Linked DNA regions of Homo sapiens: regions 2 and 3 are each linked to region 1. The links are contacts of gene promoters, found by promoter capture Hi-C in blood cells and fetal thymus (Javierre and others, 2016). All regions are on one chromosome and are shown on one strand. Each heading gives the region's core, a stretch centred on a gene start or on the middle of the fragment in contact. The rest is flanking DNA. Distances are from core to core; before and after follow the strand shown.

The links. Contacts are between HindIII fragments. The CHiCAGO score rates a contact against its expected background, and 5 or more counts as called.
Region 2: a contact is called between a fragment that was not itself captured here and the fragment with the promoter of LYPLA1 in region 1, in 1 of 17 cell types (non-activated CD4 T cells). The highest score is 6.1, in non-activated CD4 T cells.
Region 3: a fragment that was not itself captured here is called in contact with the fragment with the promoter of LYPLA1 in region 1 in 2 of 17 cell types (M2 macrophages and M0 macrophages); the score reaches 5.5 in M2 macrophages.

What each region holds. Positions count from the first base shown.
Region 1 is chr8:54,099,857-54,103,514 of GRCh38, reverse strand. LYPLA1 (lysophospholipase 1) reads left to right here and starts at 1,568. Exons shown (of 9, transcript NM_006330.4): 1 at 1,568-1,760; 2 at 2,576-2,607. The coding sequence starts at 1,692. LYPLA1-TCEA1 (LYPLA1-TCEA1 readthrough) reads left to right here and starts at 1,568. Exons shown (of 21, transcript NM_001425842.1): 1 at 1,568-1,760; 2 at 2,576-2,607. RefSeq lists a silencer at 1,445-2,014. The HindIII fragment of the contact is 1,923 bases long and covers 310-2,232 here.
Region 2 is chr8:53,776,750-53,780,407 of GRCh38, reverse strand. The region is part of intron 9 of ATP6V1H (ATPase H+ transporting V1 subunit H); the gene reads left to right. Among named protein-coding and RNA genes, the nearest start is that of ATP6V1H, 65 kb to the left of the region's middle. The HindIII fragment of the contact is 1,595 bases long and covers 1,055-2,649 here.
Region 3 is chr8:53,808,556-53,812,213 of GRCh38, reverse strand. It overlaps ATP6V1H (ATPase H+ transporting V1 subunit H), which reads left to right. Exons shown (of 14, transcript NM_015941.4): 7 at 997-1,050. Among named protein-coding and RNA genes, the nearest start is that of ATP6V1H, 33 kb to the left of the region's middle. The HindIII fragment of the contact is 1,924 bases long and covers 619-2,542 here.

The DNA of each region.
Region 1 (3,658 bases), core at 319-2,818:
GTGATCCGCCCACCTCGGCCTCCCAAAGTGCTGGGATTACAGGTTTGAGCCACTGCGCCCGGCCTCCAGTATGTCCTTCACTGAATTGTAAACTTCTGAAGGTCAGGGCATTTTGGCTTTAAGTGTTTCTATCTTGTGCTCTCTTCCAGATCTTACCATGTAGTTGATATGCAACACATTTGTTGAGTAACTACATTTTAGGCCATAAAGGCACCTGTGCAGAAAAGGGCAGTCTAGTCTCATGCTTATGTGTCCAGAGTTGGTTCCTTCCGGTGGGTTCATGGTCTCGCTGACTTCAAGAATAAAGCTTGTCACCTTCGTGGTGAGTGTTACAGTTTTTTTTTTTTTTTTTTTTTTTTTTTGAGACAAGGTCTCTCTCTGTCTCCCAGGCTGGAGTGCAGTGACGCGATCTCAGGTCACTACAAGCTCTGCCTCTCAGGTTCACGCCATTCCCCTGCCTCAGCCTCCCAAGTAGCTTGGACTACACGACCGGCCAATTTTTTTTTTTTGTATTTTTAGTAGAGACGAGGTCTCACCGTGTTAAGGCAGGATGGTCTCGATCACCTGACCTCCTGATCCACCCGCCTCGGCCTCCCAAAGTGCTGGGAGTGTTACAGCTCTTAAAGGTCCCACAGACCCAAAGAGTGAGCAGCAGCAGCAAGATTTATTGTGAAGAGTGAAAGAACAAACTTTCCACAGTGTGGAAGGGGACCCAGGGCTGCCACTGCCAGCTAGGGGATGGGGGGCGTGGCCAGCTTTTATTTCCTTATTTGTCCCGGCCCAAGTCCTGCGGATTGGTCCACTTTACAGAACACTGATTAGCCCGTTTTACAGGGTACTGATTGGTGCATTTTACAAACCTCTAGCTAGCCACAAAGTGCTGATTGGTGCATTTTACAATCCTAGCTACAGAGTGCTGTTGGTACATTTTACAATCCTCTTGTAAGACAGAAAAGTTCTCCAAGTCCCCAACCGACCCAGAAGACCAGCTGGCTTTACCTCTCACTTAAACCTGTACTGTGTCAATATCCGTACATCAGTAAGTGTTGTCGATCAAGTTAGGGAAGTAGTGGATTTCTGGTGACAAATGTTACCCTTTCCAACTAAAGTTTAAAGAAGGTAAGTTGAACCCAAATCTACATACTGCTGTAGCCCCAAACGGAAATACTGCAAAAGCTCCATCAACGTCTCCCAGTCCATCCAGACTTTTACAAATGGATAGACCCCGGCCGCAGGAAACCAAGGAGCACCTGGGGTTGGGTTGGGTGAATTGGCTCTGGGGCTCATTCTTTTCACTACAGCGCCAGAAAAGCAAAAACCTAAACCAAGACCCAAGAGACCAGCCCTCAGCCTGCACCTGAGAGCACATTTTCCCTAGCCAGCACTGAGCATGCGCAGGCTGCGTGGTGTGGCGAAAGCGCAGCCAGGTCCGCGCTGCCGCCGCAGCCAATCGGAGGGAGGGAGCCGCCCGGACATTGTGAGGTGCCGAGGGAGGGGCGGCGGGCGAGGGGCAGGGCAGGGCGGACCCTGGACGCGCGGGCGCGCGCGGAAGGTAGCGCGGGGCCGCGTTGGCGCGCACGCGCCTGAGCGTGCGCCCGGTGGGGCCGGCCGGGACTCGCCGCTCGCACGCCCTTGGGCCGCGGCCGGGCGCCCGCTCTTCCTTCCGCTTGCGCTGTGAGCTGAGGCGGTGTATGTGCGGCAATAACATGTCAACCCCGCTGCCCGCCATCGTGCCCGCCGCCCGGAAGGCCACCGCTGCGGTGAGTGGCGTAGGCGTGGGCTCGGAGGGGTCCACTGGGCCGGCCACCGGTGGTTGCCCCTCGCGCGGGGTGGGCGTTGCGGGCGCGTGGCGGCCTGCGGACGAGGACGCTCCTCCCGGCCCGGGTGGGGTGCGAATGGTCCGCGCGGCCGGGTCCGCGGGGGGCGGGGGCAGCCGGGGGGTCACAGCCGGCGCGAGGGCCAGTCCCCAGCTCCTCCCTGCATTGCGGAGGAAGTGTGGCCCCGGGACCCCCGCGGGCCGGCCTAGGGCACGGCGTCAGCCTCTGCAGCGTGTTTCTGCCTGGTGTGTGGGTGAGGGAAACCTAAGTCCGCCAGGAAATCGCCTTATTGTCACCTCGCACTCTTATCCTCAATGAAAGAAGTTTGAAGATTGAGTGTCCTACAAGGTCAGACGTACTGTTTTTTAGAAAACTCGTGTATGAAAAGTCAAACTTATTTTTGCCTCCGGAAGCTTGCTTTTGCAGTGGAAAAATTCTACAGGATATGTGAGATGTTCCTGATTTCACTTGAAAGAGATAAACTGTTTTTCTTAGAATGTGATCATTTGCACTCAATGTCTAACTGGGACCTCTCAGTGCTACCCCCCCCCCATTCATTATCTCAGGAAATAAAGGGAGAAGTTGATCAGAATTTTTGCCATTTAAAAGAGGTCGATAAAGATTAAGTCGCCGAAGATAGTGTTGTGTAATTCTCTCGTAGGTTTCGTTCCGTTTTCCACCTTAAGCAAAGCTAGTGTGTAACAATCCTGTGTGGGCTTATTTAGGCATTGCTTATTAATTTTCCTCTTCTCTTATAGGTGATTTTCCTGCATGGATTGGGAGATACTGGGTAGGTACCATTATTATTAATAGTAACAGTAATGAAACTGGGTCATGCAACTTTTGTTTACGCGTTCAAAGGTTTAATGTTTAAGGGCGCTAAAATGGTATTTTAAGATTGCCAGTTAATGTATCTTACAGTGCGGTGATTTTATGTTTTGAAAACCCTCAGAATTTTCCCCTTATCATCGTGAGTTTATTGATTTTTTAACTCTGGTTTCTGGAACATATTAAAATTTCAAATTCCTCATTAGTTGCTTTGGGTATTGGATACCAGAGATCCGTGGAATGTTAGTAGGGACGGTGTGCAATTGAGAGCTTTCCAGAGCAGTTAAAATTTCAGAGCAGATTGAAGAGAAGAACTAGTTGATTTTGATAAGAGAACTAGTGGCAACATAAGGCATGCAGCATTCTGAATAGAGGGATTAGATGTTCACTCTAATGAGTTGAAAGGCAGGGGAGGCAACTCAAAGATTTATTTGGAGGCTTATCAAACAATTTGTTGTACTAACTACTTATTTTTATTTTATTTTTTGTTTGTTTGCTTTTTTCTTTTGTTATTATTTTTAGAGACAAGGGCTCTCTCTGTCGCCCAGGCTGGAGTGCAGTTGCAGGATCTTAGCTCACTGCAGCTTTGAACTCCTGGGCTCAAGTGATCCTTCAGCCTCAGCCTCTCAAAGCACAGAGATTAGAGGTGGGAGCTGCCTGAGCCTGGCCTTTTGTACTAACTTTAGATACATGATTTATCTTTTACTCAAGCTTTTTCTATATTGAGATGTTTTTGTTTTTATATTTAAATTGGTGATAATCTGTGAAACTTAAGCAAAATATGAATGTTGTTGAAAAATTGCAGAAATAGAGGAAAACTGAAGATAAATAAATTTTGATAAAGTAGCCCCAGAACGACTAAATTTTCTTTAAAATGAACCATTGGGGCCGGGCGCGGTGGCTCACACCTGTAATCCCAGCACTTTGGGAGGCCGAGGTGGGTAGTTCACTTGATGTCAAGAGTTCGACACCAGCTTGGCCAATATGGTGAAACCCCATCTCTACTAAAAATA
Region 2 (3,658 bases), core at 603-3,102, 320 kb after region 1:
AGATGACACAATGAAATGAGAACATGTATTTAAAGAAGAATAGAGAAGGCTTAATGATTGATTTGACAAAGTTGACGAAAAAGGGAAAATCAAAAATGACTAATCTTTGAAATGCCATTATCTTGGACAATTTAGAGGGAAGTTGGTTTTAGAAGAATACCATAGGGTTGTTCTACATTAGTTATTGAATGTGTTGAAGTTATAGTTGAAGCCATTAGTTATGATAATGTCTTTTTTTTTTTTTTTTTTGAGATGGAGTCTCACCCTGTCACCGAGGCTGGAATGCAGTGGCATGATCTCGGCTCGCTGCAACCTCTACCTCCTGTGTTCAAGTGATTCTCCTGCCTCAGCCTTCTGAGTAGCTGTGATTACAGGCATGCAGCACCACGCCTGGCTAATTTTTGTATTTTTAGTACAGGTGGGGTTTCACTGTGTTGGCCAGGCTGGTCTAGAACCCCTGCCTTCAGGTGATCCGCCTGCCTTGGCCTCCCAAAGTGCTGGAATTATAGGTGTGAGCCATCAAGTCCAGCCGACAATATCTTAAAGATGGAGTTTAATTCTCTGGTCAACAAATACATGTAATGAAATTAACAAAACCATATAAACAAAAGAGCTTTGATATGTTTCTAAAGTTAGAGGAGAGGATAGGTAATAGGAAAAGTAACTGGGAAAGACCATCGAAAGTTTAGTAGAGAAATAAGTGAAATCTCACAAAAGGAAAGGAAGAGGGGAAGAGTTTTATAAGTAAGAGGTTAACAGATTTACACCTCCCCTCTCAGAAAATAATTTGTTTAGAAAGAAATAACAGGTGTTCTGAAACAGAATAGTTTGTAGAAGTAGTTATACAAGGAACTGGGGGTTAAGAGAAGAATTATAAATAATCTGTGATATCTAGTATGTCCTATTTACTAGGATCTCACACTTTAGTAAAGGAGACAAGCATGTAATAATATTAGTGTCATATATCATGATTTCTTCTTTGACTATGGATTACATAGGAGTGCATTGTTAAATTTCCAAATAGAAATTAGAAAGTTACTGGTCTTTTTAAGCTTAATTCCATTACGGTTAAGAACATATTCTGTAAGATTTCAATCCTTTGAAATTTGGGACTCATTTTATGGCTTGTCTTATAGTCTGTCATAGTGGATGTACCAAGTGCACTTAAAAGAATGCATATTTTGCCAGTGGAGTTGTGTTCTGTGTCATTTAGGTCAGGGTGGTTGACAGTGTTATTTAGATCTTCTATGTACTGATTTTTTTGTTTAGTGGTTCTATCAATTGCTGAGAGAGCTGTTAAAATCTCTAGCTATTATTGTGGATTTGTCTATTTCTTCCTGCAGTTTTGTCAATTTTTGTTTCATGAATTTTGAAGCTCTGTAATTAAAACACAATGAATGCTACATTTTCCTGATGAACTGGACTTTGTATCATTGTGAAATATCCTTCTTTATCACTGGTAATGCTCTTTGTTTACTTTATTTGAAGTTAATATCACTCCAGCATTCTTACGCTTATGGTTGCATGCTATATCTTTTTCCTTCTTAGTTTCAACTTACCTGTGTCATATTTAGTTTGTCTCTTTTAGGCAACACATCCTTGGGTCTTAAACTTTTATCTATTCAAATAATTTCTGCCTCTTAACTGGAGTATCTAGTTCACTGGCATTTACAATAACTATTGATATGATTGGATTTAGGCCTACCATTTTACTCTTTGTTTTCTGTTTGCTTATCTGTTTTTTGTTCTTCTATCTTCCATTTTTGCTTTCTCTTGGGTTAAGTGCATCCTTTAAAAAATTTCATTTTACTTAACATAATGACCTCCAGTTCTGTCCATGTTGCTGCAGATGACAGGATTTCATTCTTTTCTATGGCTGAATAGTCTTCGGTTGTCAGAGGCTGAGAAGGGTACCAGGGTAGGAGGGGATGAAGTGAGATTGGTTAATGGGTACAAAAATACAGTTATATAGAAGAAATAAGACCTAATGTTGTACAATTCAGTAGGTTGATAGTAAACAGTAATCTACTGTATATTTCAGAATAGCTAGAAGATAATAATTCAAATGTTCCCAACATAAAGAAAAGATAAATGTTTAAAGTGGTGGGCATCCCAATTACCTTGATTTGATAATTATAGATTATATATGATTGTATCAAAATGTCACATGTACTCCCCAAATAGGTCCATCTGTTATATATTAATAAATTTTTAAAAACTATCATAACATTTCTTTGGGGTCTTTAACTATTTGTTTTTGCACTATTTTATTTCTTAGAGGTGATTTTGGAGTCACAATACACATCCTTTCTATTGTACTACCTTATGTAAAATGTAAGCACTTGTAGTCTTTTATGCTACAGTTGTCATGTTACTGTATTTACATGTTATAAGCCCTACAATACAGGGTTTTGTGCTTTAAGCAGTCTCATGTATATTATGGAAGTAAAGAGGGAAAAACAGTGTTTTATATTTATCCAGGTATATATTAATATGATATCTACAGTTCTTTTTTCTTTTCTGGACACTCAGCTTTCCACTTGTGGTATCACTTTCCTTTAGCTGCAGAATTTTCTTTAGCCCAGGGATCAGCAAACTTTGGAAGCCTATGGGCCAAATGTGGTCCACCTGTTTTTAATCAATAAAGCTTTATTGGAACACTGCTTTGCTCATTTGTTTATGGTTTTTAATGACTGCTTTTGCACCGTAGTAGTAGAATTGTGCAGTTGTGACAGAGACTGCAAAGCCTAAAATATTTACTCTTCGCCCTTTTACAGAAAATGTTAGCCAATCCCTGCTTTCGGATATCTTCCAGTGTATGTCTGCTGGTGACTGATTATCTCAGGTTATTATAAAAAATGATTTTAGTTTACCTTTATTCTGGAAGGATATTTTTGCTGGATATAGTTCTGTTTTTTTTTTCTTTCGGTACTTTCAAGATATCGTTCCACTTCTGACCTCTCTCCTTTATTTTTCTCTCTCTTTTTTTAATGCTCTCTCTCAGCAAAATCATCTCCATCGTTTCTGATGAGAAGTCAGCTTTCCTTTGTATTTTTGTTCCCCTGTATATAATGTGTTATCTTTTTCTGGTTGCTTTGAAAATTTTACTATATTTGGTTTTCTGAAGATTGACTTTGATGTGTCTGGATTTAGTTTTATTTGTATCTACATTTCCTAGTATTTACTGAAGTTACAGATTTGTAGAGTTGCATCTTTTGCTAAAGATGGAAAATTTTGGCCATTATATTTTCAGGTATACATTTGCACCTTTTTACTTATCCTTGCCTTCTGGCATTCTAATTCCACTTATGTTAGACCTTTTGATATTGCACTGCAAGTCACTGAGCCTTTGTTCACTTTGTTTGTGGGAGGGAAGAAACAGTATTTTTTTGTATCTGTCTCTGAAATTGAATAATTTCTGTTGCTCTGTCTTCATGTTCACTGACTCCTTTGTCATCTCCAGTCCACTTTTGAGCTCATTTGTAAATTTTAAAATTTCAAATGATCTGTGTTTTTATTTCTAGGATTTCCATTTGGGAATTTAGTTTCTGTGTCTCCACTGAACTTTCTTTTTTTGCTTTTTTATTGGTACCGTTTTTTTCTTTGGTCATAGTCGTAATGTTTACTTTAAATCTTTTTCTGCAAACTCCAACATCTA
Region 3 (3,658 bases), core at 331-2,830, 290 kb after region 1:
GGCCTTGCTTCTTAGTCTGGCTACTGCTTCTGCTTGGCTCTCATTGCACTGTCCCTCTTGCTGTGGGCAGGCACTTCTTCATAGCCTTCTATCATGATTAAAATTCAGACTCTTCGTTTTAAAAAGTAACAATTATTTGTGATATTACTTGCTACTTTGCTCAATTGTCATGCGATAGTGCTACATCTAGAGTGTCTCTTTTTTCTCTGTCACAAGTGTTTTTCTCTCTCACAAAAAGTACCACAATTTCATGATTCTAATAGAAATAAACTTTCAAAAGTCCAAGTTAGCTGCAAGTTTAGATGTTTTGTTCTTTGACCTTATAGTGGCCTTTGAAGCCTTTTTGGGTAGTTTGGAGCGTTGCACTTGGGTTGTGGGGACTCATGCCTGTACTTCATAGATAGTAGTTATTGAATGATACAAAGTTAACATTTCCTTTCAGAAATTCATTATTGCTTTTCTCTTGCACTTTCAGCCTCTGACTTTCTTTAAATTTTCTTTGGTCATTTCTATATGACATTTGAGATTTTGATTGTCATTATAATTCATTAGCTTTGCTGTGGATAACCAAGTCACATATTGTACCTTCCTGACATCAGGCACCTATTTTTGAAAGCTTTGCTACAGAATATAGTGTGGATAGTTCAATTTAAGGCAGTCATTTTACTGGAAAAACAATTCAGTAAGTAAATCTTAAGACTTGGAAATTTGCACTAGCTTTACCCATGAAATTTACCTGGAGCTTAGTAGTCAGTTTATTATTGTTCCATTTTTAGCTACTTACTGATTAATATATTATCTGGAAGAATGTAACGATATTTAGAACATTTTATGTCATCCCCTTGCTTTTTATTTAGTAGGATTAGGAATAAAATTATAGGGGAAAAATTATTACATAGAATTAGGGGAAAAGTTTGCTTAGCTCCCTTTTGTAAGCTGATACATTAGGATAAAATCAAAACAAAACTAAATAATGAGTTATTTATTTCGTAATAGAAACTGCGTGGTAGCGGTGTTGCTGTTGAAACAGGAACAGTCTCTTCAAGTGATGTAAGTATATTCCTTCACTGGCCTAAACATCCCCAAAATAAATTATTTTGAGTCATATACACTTAAAATTTTGAAGGTGTTTACTAGTTCCCCAACTATAAATCCATGGTCACCTCCAGTTAGGTTAATTGTATTATAAACTATATATAAATATTGATGGTCTGTGGAGATCATCTTTTCTGTGGTAGACATAAGACTTGTTCTTTCCCGTTGCTCTTTTTTCCAGGTGACTTTTGTTTCAGACCTGAGAAACAAAGCAAAAATCAGAATTCAGAAGCACAACTGGAGCAAATAATCATAAAGTTTTCTCTTTAAACTTCAGTTATCTGATTAAACTGTCTAATATCTGTCTAATCAAAAGGTGAACAAAAGCGTCAAACATTTGAAAGAAATTCAGTTACTTTTATTTATTTATTTATTTTTTGAGACACAGTCTAGCTCTATCCCCCAGGCTGGAGTGCAGTGGCACAATCTCAGCTCACTGCAACCTCTGCCTCCCAGGTTCAATTAATTCTCCTGCCTCAGCCTCCCGAGTAGCTGGGACTACAAGCGCCCGCCACCACACCCAGCTAATTTTTGTATTTTTAGTAGAGATGAGGTTTCACCAAGTTGGCCAGAATGGTGTCGATCTCTTGACCTCGTGATCCGCCTGCCTTGGCCTCCCAAAGTGCTGGGATTACAGGCATGAGCCACCACGCCAGGCCTTCTTTCCACATTTTTGTAGAGCCAAAAGGCTCTACATAAATACATAAATAATCTACATAATTAAGATTAATTATGGCTCCCCAAGTTCCTTTCTTGGCTAAAGTTACGTTTTCCATTTGGGAATGGCTGAACTTTGCTGTGCTCTAGGAATAGCTCAGGAACTGGAAGTAAGTTTGGACAAGTTAACGATGTTCATGATGAGAGCCAGTTGATAGAAAGTTAGGGAAAACGGAGACAGAAACAGAAGTGTGTCTAGCTTCCTTTGTTGAAAGTATCACTAGGAAACTAGGAAGTATCTTTAGAGGGTAGTTTCTGTAACCTGCCTGCAATAGACCCAAGTGAAGCTCTGTAGGAGCCATTTAATATCCATATTGGTTGCTGGTACTCCCATAATCTGAATGAATGTCACGGGTATGTATGTTCCAAGACCATAGATGGCAGCAAAATCCATTTTGAAGCTGGGCTTCTCTTGGAGCATGGGTTGAAGTGTTTGATGACTCATATGTTAGGCCAGAAAATGGCTATTAGCCTTCTGAAGTGGAATCAGAACAAGGTATAGAACTAGATACGCGATCCTGGGGCCATGGTGGGCTGAGGAAATGGTAGGTAAGAAGCCTCGTTTCTCAATCAGAAGCAGATGTTTACATTGAGAATCTTTATTTTGCTTAAATTGAGAGTCTTCATTTCATGTGTCTTGAATTTCTACCAGTTTGAAAAATTATTTAGCTTATTTTAGACTTACAAACTTATTTAAGTGGTTGTCAAAGTATTTTAAGTTATTAAAGCTTAAATAAGGAAATGCAAACTCTGCTGACATGACATCCTTATTTTGCTATTTTCTGTGCAGTGTATTAGAAAAACAAAATTAACTGAATTGGTGGTGTGTTGGTCTAAGTGATTTACCTGGTAGATTCATATACATCCCAAATGGAATTCACATCAGGAGTGATTGTGAGTTAGGAAAAGATGGCCTTTGGTTTCCTACCTTCTTCCCTTTAGTGACTCTCAACCCTGAACATATTTTTGGACTCTTCCTGAAGTTCTTACTTTTTTAGATGGCTGTCTACTTGAAAAGCAGACCTCCATGTGTTGAGAGTAGGGTGTCAGCCCTTCCTTTGATTCTTATATTTCCATAGGGGAATCTTAATATAGCAGCTAATATTCATTGAGCACTTAACTATGTGCCTGACGCTTACTCATTTTACATTTACATCTCCTTGAATATTTACACTCCCTGTTCAATGTAGGTCATATCATTAGCCGCATTTTATGGATGAGTAGTGAGACCAAACAGAAAAACATACCAACATGCCCGAGGTCACACAGAGACTCTGAAGAAATGGATTGCTTAGAGAATTACTTGTGAGGCAGCTGAGTTGGAATTGCATCTTTAGGCATTCCTCAAGTTGCATTGCTTACTCAGACTTTTTAAGGTATCAGTATCACATCTTTAAATCATATCTTTTCAGAGTGGAGAAAAGCAGTTTGGTAAACTGCATTACAAATTATTGCCACTTGATGTCAGTATAAAACAAGTTTTACACTGCAAAATGTGAAATAAACATGATTCAACAGTCTTACCTTTTTTAAAATGGCCTCAGAAGCATCATTTTAAGTTATAAGTGGATCATTACAAACATTTTGTTTTTTTTTTTTTTGAGATGGAGTCTCACTCTGTCACCCAGGTTGGAGTGCAGTGGTGCGATCTCAGCTCACTGCAACTTCTGCCTCCCAGGCTGAAGCGATCCTCCAGCCTCAGCCCAACCACCACCACCAACCTCTGACCCCCATCCCACCAGTAGCTGGGACTACAAGCACGAGCCACCATGCCCCGCTAATTTTTTTTGTATTTTGGTGGAGACAAGGTCTCGCTATGTTGTCCAGGCTGGTCTTGAACTCCTGA